Regions from separate parts of the Homo sapiens genome. Here region 2 is linked to region 1. The links are contacts of gene promoters, found by promoter capture Hi-C in blood cells and fetal thymus (Javierre and others, 2016). All regions are on one chromosome and are shown on one strand. The core of a region is centred on a gene start or on the middle of the fragment in contact, and the rest is flanking DNA. Distances in the headings are between cores, read along the strand shown.

The links. The method cuts DNA at HindIII sites, captures the fragments that hold promoters and counts their contacts. A CHiCAGO score of 5 or more calls a contact.
Region 2: a fragment that was not itself captured here is called in contact with the fragment with the promoter of DPYS in region 1 in 2 of 17 cell types (erythroblasts and megakaryocytes); the score reaches 5.6 in erythroblasts.

The regions. Positions count from the first base shown.
Region 1 is chr8:104,464,881-104,468,967 of GRCh38, reverse strand. It overlaps DPYS (dihydropyrimidinase), which reads left to right and starts at 1,913. Exons shown (of 10, transcript NM_001385.3): 1 at 1,913-2,311. The coding sequence starts at 2,048. It overlaps LOC105375691 (a long non-coding RNA gene), which reads right to left and starts at 3,198. Exons shown (of 3, transcript XR_928507.3): 1 at 2,981-3,198. RefSeq lists an enhancer at 1-159. The HindIII fragment of the contact is 2,857 bases long and covers 1,087-3,943 here.
Region 2 is chr8:104,770,869-104,774,543 of GRCh38, reverse strand. No RefSeq gene overlaps it. Among named protein-coding and RNA genes, the nearest start is that of LRP12, 180 kb to the right of the region's middle. The HindIII fragment of the contact is 613 bases long and covers 1,959-2,571 here.

The DNA of each region.
Region 1 (4,087 bases), core at 664-3,163:
AGCGGCGGGTCTGTGACGGCAGCAAACAGCAGTGGTGGATGGTGAGCAAAAGCTCAGCTCAAGCCGTAACAAACACAGACCAGAAGAGTGTGCAGCTGCAAAATTTAATAGAGTGAAAACAGAGCTCCCATACAATGGGAGAGGACCCAAAGGGGGTTGCCGCTCCCTGCTGGAATGCTTGGGTTTATATCCTGATCATTGTCCCTCCTCCTGTGCTCTCAGGTGATATATGATTTGACTATTTCTTTACCTCCTGCTTTTAACCTAATTTGTATTTTAGTGAGCCCTCTTTACTACCTGACTGGTAGGGTGTGAGCTGAGATGCAAGCCCCATGTTTAAAGGTAGGTGTAGTCACCTTCCCCAGCTAGGCTTAGGAATTCTTAGTCAGCCTAGGAAATCCAGCTAGTCCTGTCTCTCACCATCAGTTTCTCCAAAACAAGTGTTCTGAGACTTCAGGCAGAGGATTTCCCACCAAAGAAATGCCAGTGACTGTTACCAGAATAAGGACAAGAATATATGCCTGGTCAGCAGATGTCCACCCCACCTCCCCATGACCCTTCATAACCCTTTTGCAAGATTCCATCCTGTTGCCCTTCTTAAAATTCTGCATTCCTGCCTTCCATCACACAGACCTGTGGTCTCCCTTCTCTCTGACCACTCTGTCTCTTCTTCCTCCTCCTCCCCTATAAGCAAAGGGATGGTCCAGGATTCAGTGTAAGCCTATCCCTCATAGCTTAACCACAGGGAGTGCATTCCTTCATCCTCTCTGTGCCTTTACACGCTCTGTTCACTCTACCTGGAGCACTATGTCCTCTTCCCACCACTCACCTCTGCGTGTTCACATTCTCTGTATCCTAGTTCAAATACCTCTTCACAAATCTTCCATATCTGATGTCTTTAAGCCAGAAATAAACTCACTCTTTCCTCTAAATTCTTATCTTTATCCCTTCTCAAAGATAGAATGTTCTGTTTTATATATTGAAATATGAATGTGTGTCACTGTTGGCTGTTAGCTACTTGAGGGTGGAAATGTGGTTTATCTTTCCCACTTAGCCCTCTAGCCAATCCCCCTAGTCAGGTAAGCTTTGTAGTCCTTACAAAGCCAGTATTTAAGTGAATTTGCATGGTGCTTCCCACTTTATTAGGGTGTATTCACAGCCATGATCATATTTGCTTCTCAAAGCAAATATGGAAGGCAAGAACAAGTATTAATCAATTTTATATATGAGAAAACTGAGGAACCAAGAGAATAAAAGATTTAACTGAAGATCTCTAAACTGGTTTTGTGGAAAAGCTGGGAGTAGAAATTTAAATCTTTAGAGTTACAGTACCGGTTATTTTCCAAGAAACACTTGCTGGTATGTGTTGTATCATTAAACTGTGGAGAATAGTTGACACCAAGTCGTTTTCTTTCAAATACATTAAATATTTTACTCTGATCCTTCCCTGTGTCTGCCAATTACTGGGATTATATGATAATTTGCTCCTCGCTTAAGAACATTTAACAGGAAACCCAGATCGAGTGGCTCTGTTCTGGCTTGGGTGGGTTTGGGTATTTTTGTTGCTGCTTCTAGTGATGGTTCTTGCTTTCTTTCTCCCTCTGGATCTGTCTTTTGGTACAAACACACCCCCAACCAAGGGAAAGGGTGAGGTGGATTTCTTTCCCTTTAGCACCTAATCTTATGATGAAAAACGCAGGTTCCTTTCTCTTAAAATTCCAAGATCTTTCCCTTCCAATGACTCCGAAGCCTGGGTGGATACCTCAACTCAGGGCGCAGAACACTTGGGGTCTGAGTGTGCAAGGACCATGCGGACCTGTTCAATCCCGGCCTTTGGGCTCCAGCCCAGCCTTCCCGGGGGGAGGAGCCGCATATGCGGCCAGGTCATAAACCCGTCAGGCCGCCGGGCTCCGGATTTGCAGCCTGAGGCAGAGCTCGGGGGCTGTCGGTGGGGACCTTGCAGGAGGGCACCCCAAGCCCGCCCGGCCCGCCCAACCCAGCCCCTGCGCGCAGCCCGGGCCGAGTAGGACCCCGCGCGCCCCTCGCTATGGCGGCGCCCTCGCGGCTCCTGATCCGCGGGGGTCGCGTGGTCAACGATGACTTCTCGGAGGTGGCCGACGTGCTGGTGGAGGACGGCGTGGTGCGGGCACTCGGGCACGACCTGCTGCCTCCCGGGGGCGCTCCTGCGGGGCTGCGGGTCCTCGACGCCGCCGGCAAGCTCGTCCTGCCCGGAGGCATCGACACACACACGCACATGCAGTTCCCCTTCATGGGCTCGCGGTCCATCGACGACTTCCACCAGGGCACCAAGGTACCCGCCCCGCCGCGCCCCCGCCCCGCGGTACCCACGGAGGCTCGGGCAGCCTCCCCAGTCGTCCCGGGGTCCTCAGCAGGGCCGCCTCGCGCGGCGCGGCGCCGAGGAGCTGGGTGGGCGGGAAGGAGCGCAGCCCCGGCGGGTGTCAGAGGGGACTCAGATTCTCTTCGCTGGGGTCCCTTTCAGGCGCCCCTTCTCGGCGGCAGCCGAGCAGCCTTGGCTCAACCAGATGCCCTCGACTCCTCCTTTAGTGGTTAATTTGACGAGTTTAAGGCCATCCCCTTACCCTAATTTCTCTATACCGCTTACTCCCCAAATCTCCCCGCAACCCCATTTTGATTGGTGTTCTGTGGAAGTCGCAAATCTTCCATACATTCTTTAGAATCTTTTTTTAAAGTAGGCACTTCCAGCCATTTCTCCCAACCATTTCGACCCATCCTTTATCCCCAACCAAAACCAAATGAAAAATCCATTCACCTGGTAGTTACAGCCTTGACTCAAAGTGAGCAGTGTAGCAGGTAATGTGTCTGAGTAGGCTAGATGCCCACCGTGTTCACGTTCCCGTCCCCTACCCTCTGCCCCCACTCCCACCCCCAGTAGAAAAAATATAGCCCCGACCAGGGTTTAGAAGAGAAAGTATTCCAGAAATGATCTCGCAACACTCACACACACCAACGCAGCCTCGCAGCAGGCTCTTTTCTCCATCCCACTTGCGCTGGGGACACAACATTCTTGCTGCTGGAGTACCCATAGTTTTACTGATGTTGCAGGAGGGTAATCAGATCACCACTCCCCAGGTGAAGGTAGGCTTGGGTTTCTCTAGATACAAAGGCCTAGAAGTTTGGGTCAATGAAAGGAAACTTAAACCAAACTTGTCCAACCTGTAGGCCGCATGCAGCCCAGGACAGCTTTGAATGCGGCCCAACACAAATTCATAAACTTTCTTAAAACATTATGAGATTTTTTTTCTTAGTTCATTGGCTGTCGTTAGTGTTAGTATATTTCATGTGTGGCCCAAGACAAGAGAAGCCAAAGATTGGACACCCCTGCAACATTTCCCCAAAGCTCCTCAACACAAGATCAAGAGACTAACAGAGCAGCTTTACAGGAACATAGAGTAAAAATTCTACTCTCAGCACTTGGGCTAAAGTAAAGCCCACATCCTCCCTAAGTCCTGTGTTTTGAGCTGCCTTGAGAGAAATGGCTCCTTCCAAAGTGAAGATGTATTGATATACTAAAGGCCTTGGCTTTTCACTTGGACCATACCTTGATGTGTGAAACAAGTTGGGCTATTAAGTCCAGTGTATAGTAGGCTTCCTTCCTCCCTCCCTCCTTCTCTCCATCACTCCCTCCCTTCTTTCTCCCCCCACTACCCCCTCCACCCCTCTCTTTCTTTCTATTCCCATGTTACTGTGGACAGGCTGACAGTCTTCCAAAGCAGTTTTGGTGATAGCTACTTCATTCATATACTGATTTCTGACAGTTTTGCTCTCCTTACACCTCCCCCTCTCCAAGTTCCCCAATCCTCTATAATTGACTGGAATGATTAACAGAAAAAAAGGAAGGCAGGTAGATTTGACCCAGAGAGAAGGATCTGGGCAGGCTGCTCAAATCACCATTTGGAAAGCTTCTTCCTGATTACTAATTATCAACCTATATCTTTATGTCAATAAAGTCTTTTGTAGGACAGATTGTTGTATGGTTTGAAAATTAGCAAACTTTGTTTTGTTTATTCATTTTTCCCTTTTGCTAAAAAGTAATATGCACTGAATT
Region 2 (3,675 bases), core at 1,016-3,515, 310 kb before region 1:
AACACTGGGGTCCAAAAAGCCATTCCCTTTGCCTTAAGGTGGAACCAACTTCACGGTTTAATTCACACTCCAGAGCTCCCCGTGGGATCACACTCCTGCTGAGACCACATCCTTGTTTAGCTTCTACTGCCCCATCCTGTTTTCCTCATTCCCCTTCCGAAGACATTTCCCCAATAAATTACTTGTACAAGAATCCTTGTCTACATTTCTGCTTCAGAGGTGCCCCCTCTAAGGTATCACTGCTTCACCCCATCTGCCTCTCTTTTACCTACCCGCCTCCCACGGAGGAGCCATATCCCAAGGCCAATGTTTGAGTCCTCATTAAGCTGTCCCTAAAGCCAGATCTGCCCAGCATTTTTCAGTTAATTAATTAAGTACTGAATTATCTTTTTGGCTTAAGTCAATTTGGGTTGGGCTTTGTGTTTCTTAGAAACTAGAGTACTAATACATTAGAAGATATTCAGGGCACAACTATTACGTAGTTCATTTATTCTTTGTTCCATAAATATTTATTGAGCATATATTGTGTTCCATCTACTATATAAGGATCTATAGATAGGATCTATGGTAGGATATAATGATGGAAAAGACATAGCCCTTGGCCTCATGTAACTTTCACTCTTCAAGTAGACCATAATGACAATGCAGAGCAGTAAGTATAATTTAAAAGGGTGTGTTATGGGAACACAAAAGAGGAGCAAACTAACTCCTTCCTATGGGCACATGGCAGGGCATGGGGACACCAAGCAGGGAAGGTTTCCTCAAGGAAGCAATACCTGCCCTAAAATCTAAAGGAAAGCAGAAGTCATCAAGGAGAAAAGAATTCCAGGTAAAGGAATCAGATGTACACATGAGCAAAAGCATGGTACATCTGGGGGAGTCTGGGAATATCAGTCTGGGAATATCAAGTGTGGGTTGTACACCCTGCAGAGTAAGCGTTCTGCCTCAAGGCTTTCTCTGAGGCTGTAGAAAGCTGCTCACCTACACACAGAAGCAGCCGGAAGTTTGGGGGAAGCAGATAGCCCAGCTCCAGGTATAGTTCTCCAACCAACAGAAATGCTGTCAGCAGATACGTGCCCAATTTCATCCTTGGGGGACAATTCTGAGAAGGATCCTGTGTGGTTCCTCAGATGGTCTCCAGGGAATTGAGCCCAGTCATCTGCCATAAGGACCAGCTCAATAGCAAACCCTATATTGATTTTTTTTTTCTCATGTTCACACTCCTGGTTCCCTCACGCTATTCTGTGGGATCACCTCCCAAATAAACCACCACCACCCAAATCTGTGTCTCATACTGTACCCTCTGAAGAAACCAAACTAAGACACCCATGTTGAGCAATTTGGACTGTATCCCAAGGGGAGTGGGAAACTAATAAAGGATTTTAAGCAAGAGAGTGACATAATCATCCCTGTCCTTTAGTACCATCCAACTAGGCTGCCCTGCAGAGTATGAACCTGCAAGAGAAAGCAGATGGTCTGGACTTATAGAAATACAGATTCAAGAGTGATGAGCTAAGTGGAACTGACAAAACATAATGATTGACTGGGTATGGGTGTTGAAGGAGAAGGAATCAAGATGAGGGGCTGGAAAAGAGTAAATGGTTATAAAGAGACCCTCATAGGTAGCTTTGCATCCTAAAGAATAATCACATGACCAATATCCATGATTTCCTTTATTCCTTTATTCATTCATCCAGAAATATCATTTCTTGTATATGCTACATTGTAACAGATATTTAATTCAATAGTATCCACAGCACTATAATAGACGCCATAAAGTATACACATGTGCACCCCCACACACAGACACACAAACACACAGATGAAAATATGGTCCTTGATCTAAAGCAGTTTACAATCGATTTGAGAAAAGGTACAGCATCATAAATAAACAAGCAAACCTACGTAATGTAACAAGTACTAAATAATATAAATGATATTGTTGGGGAGTAAAAGCTTTTCTCTACCCTCTTAAATTTAGTGATTGGAAGCCTGCAAATTAAACTGACAGAAGACAGATTAGCAAGAGAAAATAAAACATTTAATTACAAATGTATGCAGGAGTTCACAAAAAAAATGTGACTGAAGGAGATGGCTAGAATTGGGGGCTTGTACACTATGTTAATAGGTTATAGGAAGGGACAAACAGGTGTTTCTGGGAGAACAAATGACTTCTTGGGGAGCAGGGAGAAACTTATGGAAAAACAAACGACTTTTTGGAAAGATAAATGGGCCCTTGGGAGAATAGATGGGAGATGTGATAATTTTGTGACAATGTTTGTTTGGGTGTGGTGCCAACTTCTCCTCTCCAAGAAGAGATTACAGCTGCTCCCAGGGAGGGGATTTATGACAATTGAGTTCTTCGGGGAGGCTCTGCTTATAGACAGATAAGGGATTTTAGGAACTCAAATGCCTTCAGCTAAAAATAATTTTTATGCCACAATGGTTTATTCTGGACTCCTTCAATTCATAAAATCGGGGAGGTTGCCCAAAGCAAAAGAGCGGTCAATGTGGACTGAGTTTTAGGGTGTGGATAAATACAAATTCATAATTTATTTCCTGTTTAAAGCTTATTCTGAACCAGGCAAAGCACTTTATTTTTACTTGTTATATTATCTAATTCTTATAAAATTATTTTGCAATTGATATTATTATATTTTTTTTTATTTTTGAGGAAGAATTTCAAGAGAGAGGAAAAGTGTGTGTGTGTGTGTGCGCATGTGCATGCACACATGCATGCACACAGTAGACACTAAGGTCTAGTCCACAGAAAGTGGAGGAATTATGCTGGGGAATAATTGGGGACAGGCTTAACGGAAGGAGAGGCAGCTGGACAATGTAGAGCCTGTCGCACTTGGTTAGAGTTAGGATAAGGTGGGATATGGAAAAGGAGACACTATATTCTTAAGGAAATGGAAGATTGTAAAATATGTTCATCAAATATGACTCTAGGAACTCCATGCCAAGTACACTGGATTAGGTGCAGTTGTTCAAGAGTCTATTAAGAAATGAAAACATTTAGCCATGAAGACCTGCACTGTGTGAATTAGAAATTAAAGAAACATGGAGAAAGACCTGATGACCACATTGGAGCAGGTGCAAAAGAAGAAACAAGGACATCTTGAAACTGCCTTTGCAAAAATAATAACAGTGAGAGAAATCTAACATAACTGACTCCATTCTGCTTCTAACCTCACAAGCTAACTGCCCTTGCTCATTCTTGGGCATAGGCCAAGCTAAGAATGGGAAGAATGCTGTTTATGGTTTAACTTTAAAGCAAGGATGATAATAGTCCCTTCCTGAAACAAACCGCCTCCTCGTTCAGGGACCAAAACTGCCTTTGTAAAGCTAATGAAAGACCACAAGGTTAGAATTATGAGAAGGGCCTGAATTCTGCTAAGACATAGACATAGTTAAGTGATAACCAGCCATTTTTCCCTAGCTTGCTTTTCTATAATTGCTTACTGCTCAGGAGTCATGTAGTCGAATGTCAAGATTTGTTAATTTCCCCAATTGCTCCTCTAAATAACATCACTATTATAAAACCTAAGACTGGTCTTTGAGATACTTTTCAGACTTTTGCATCCTGGTGGACCACATGATGCCACTTGGACCTGTGACCCATACCAAGAAACTGACTCAACTTGTCCTGTGAATTCTACCCAGAAACTGACT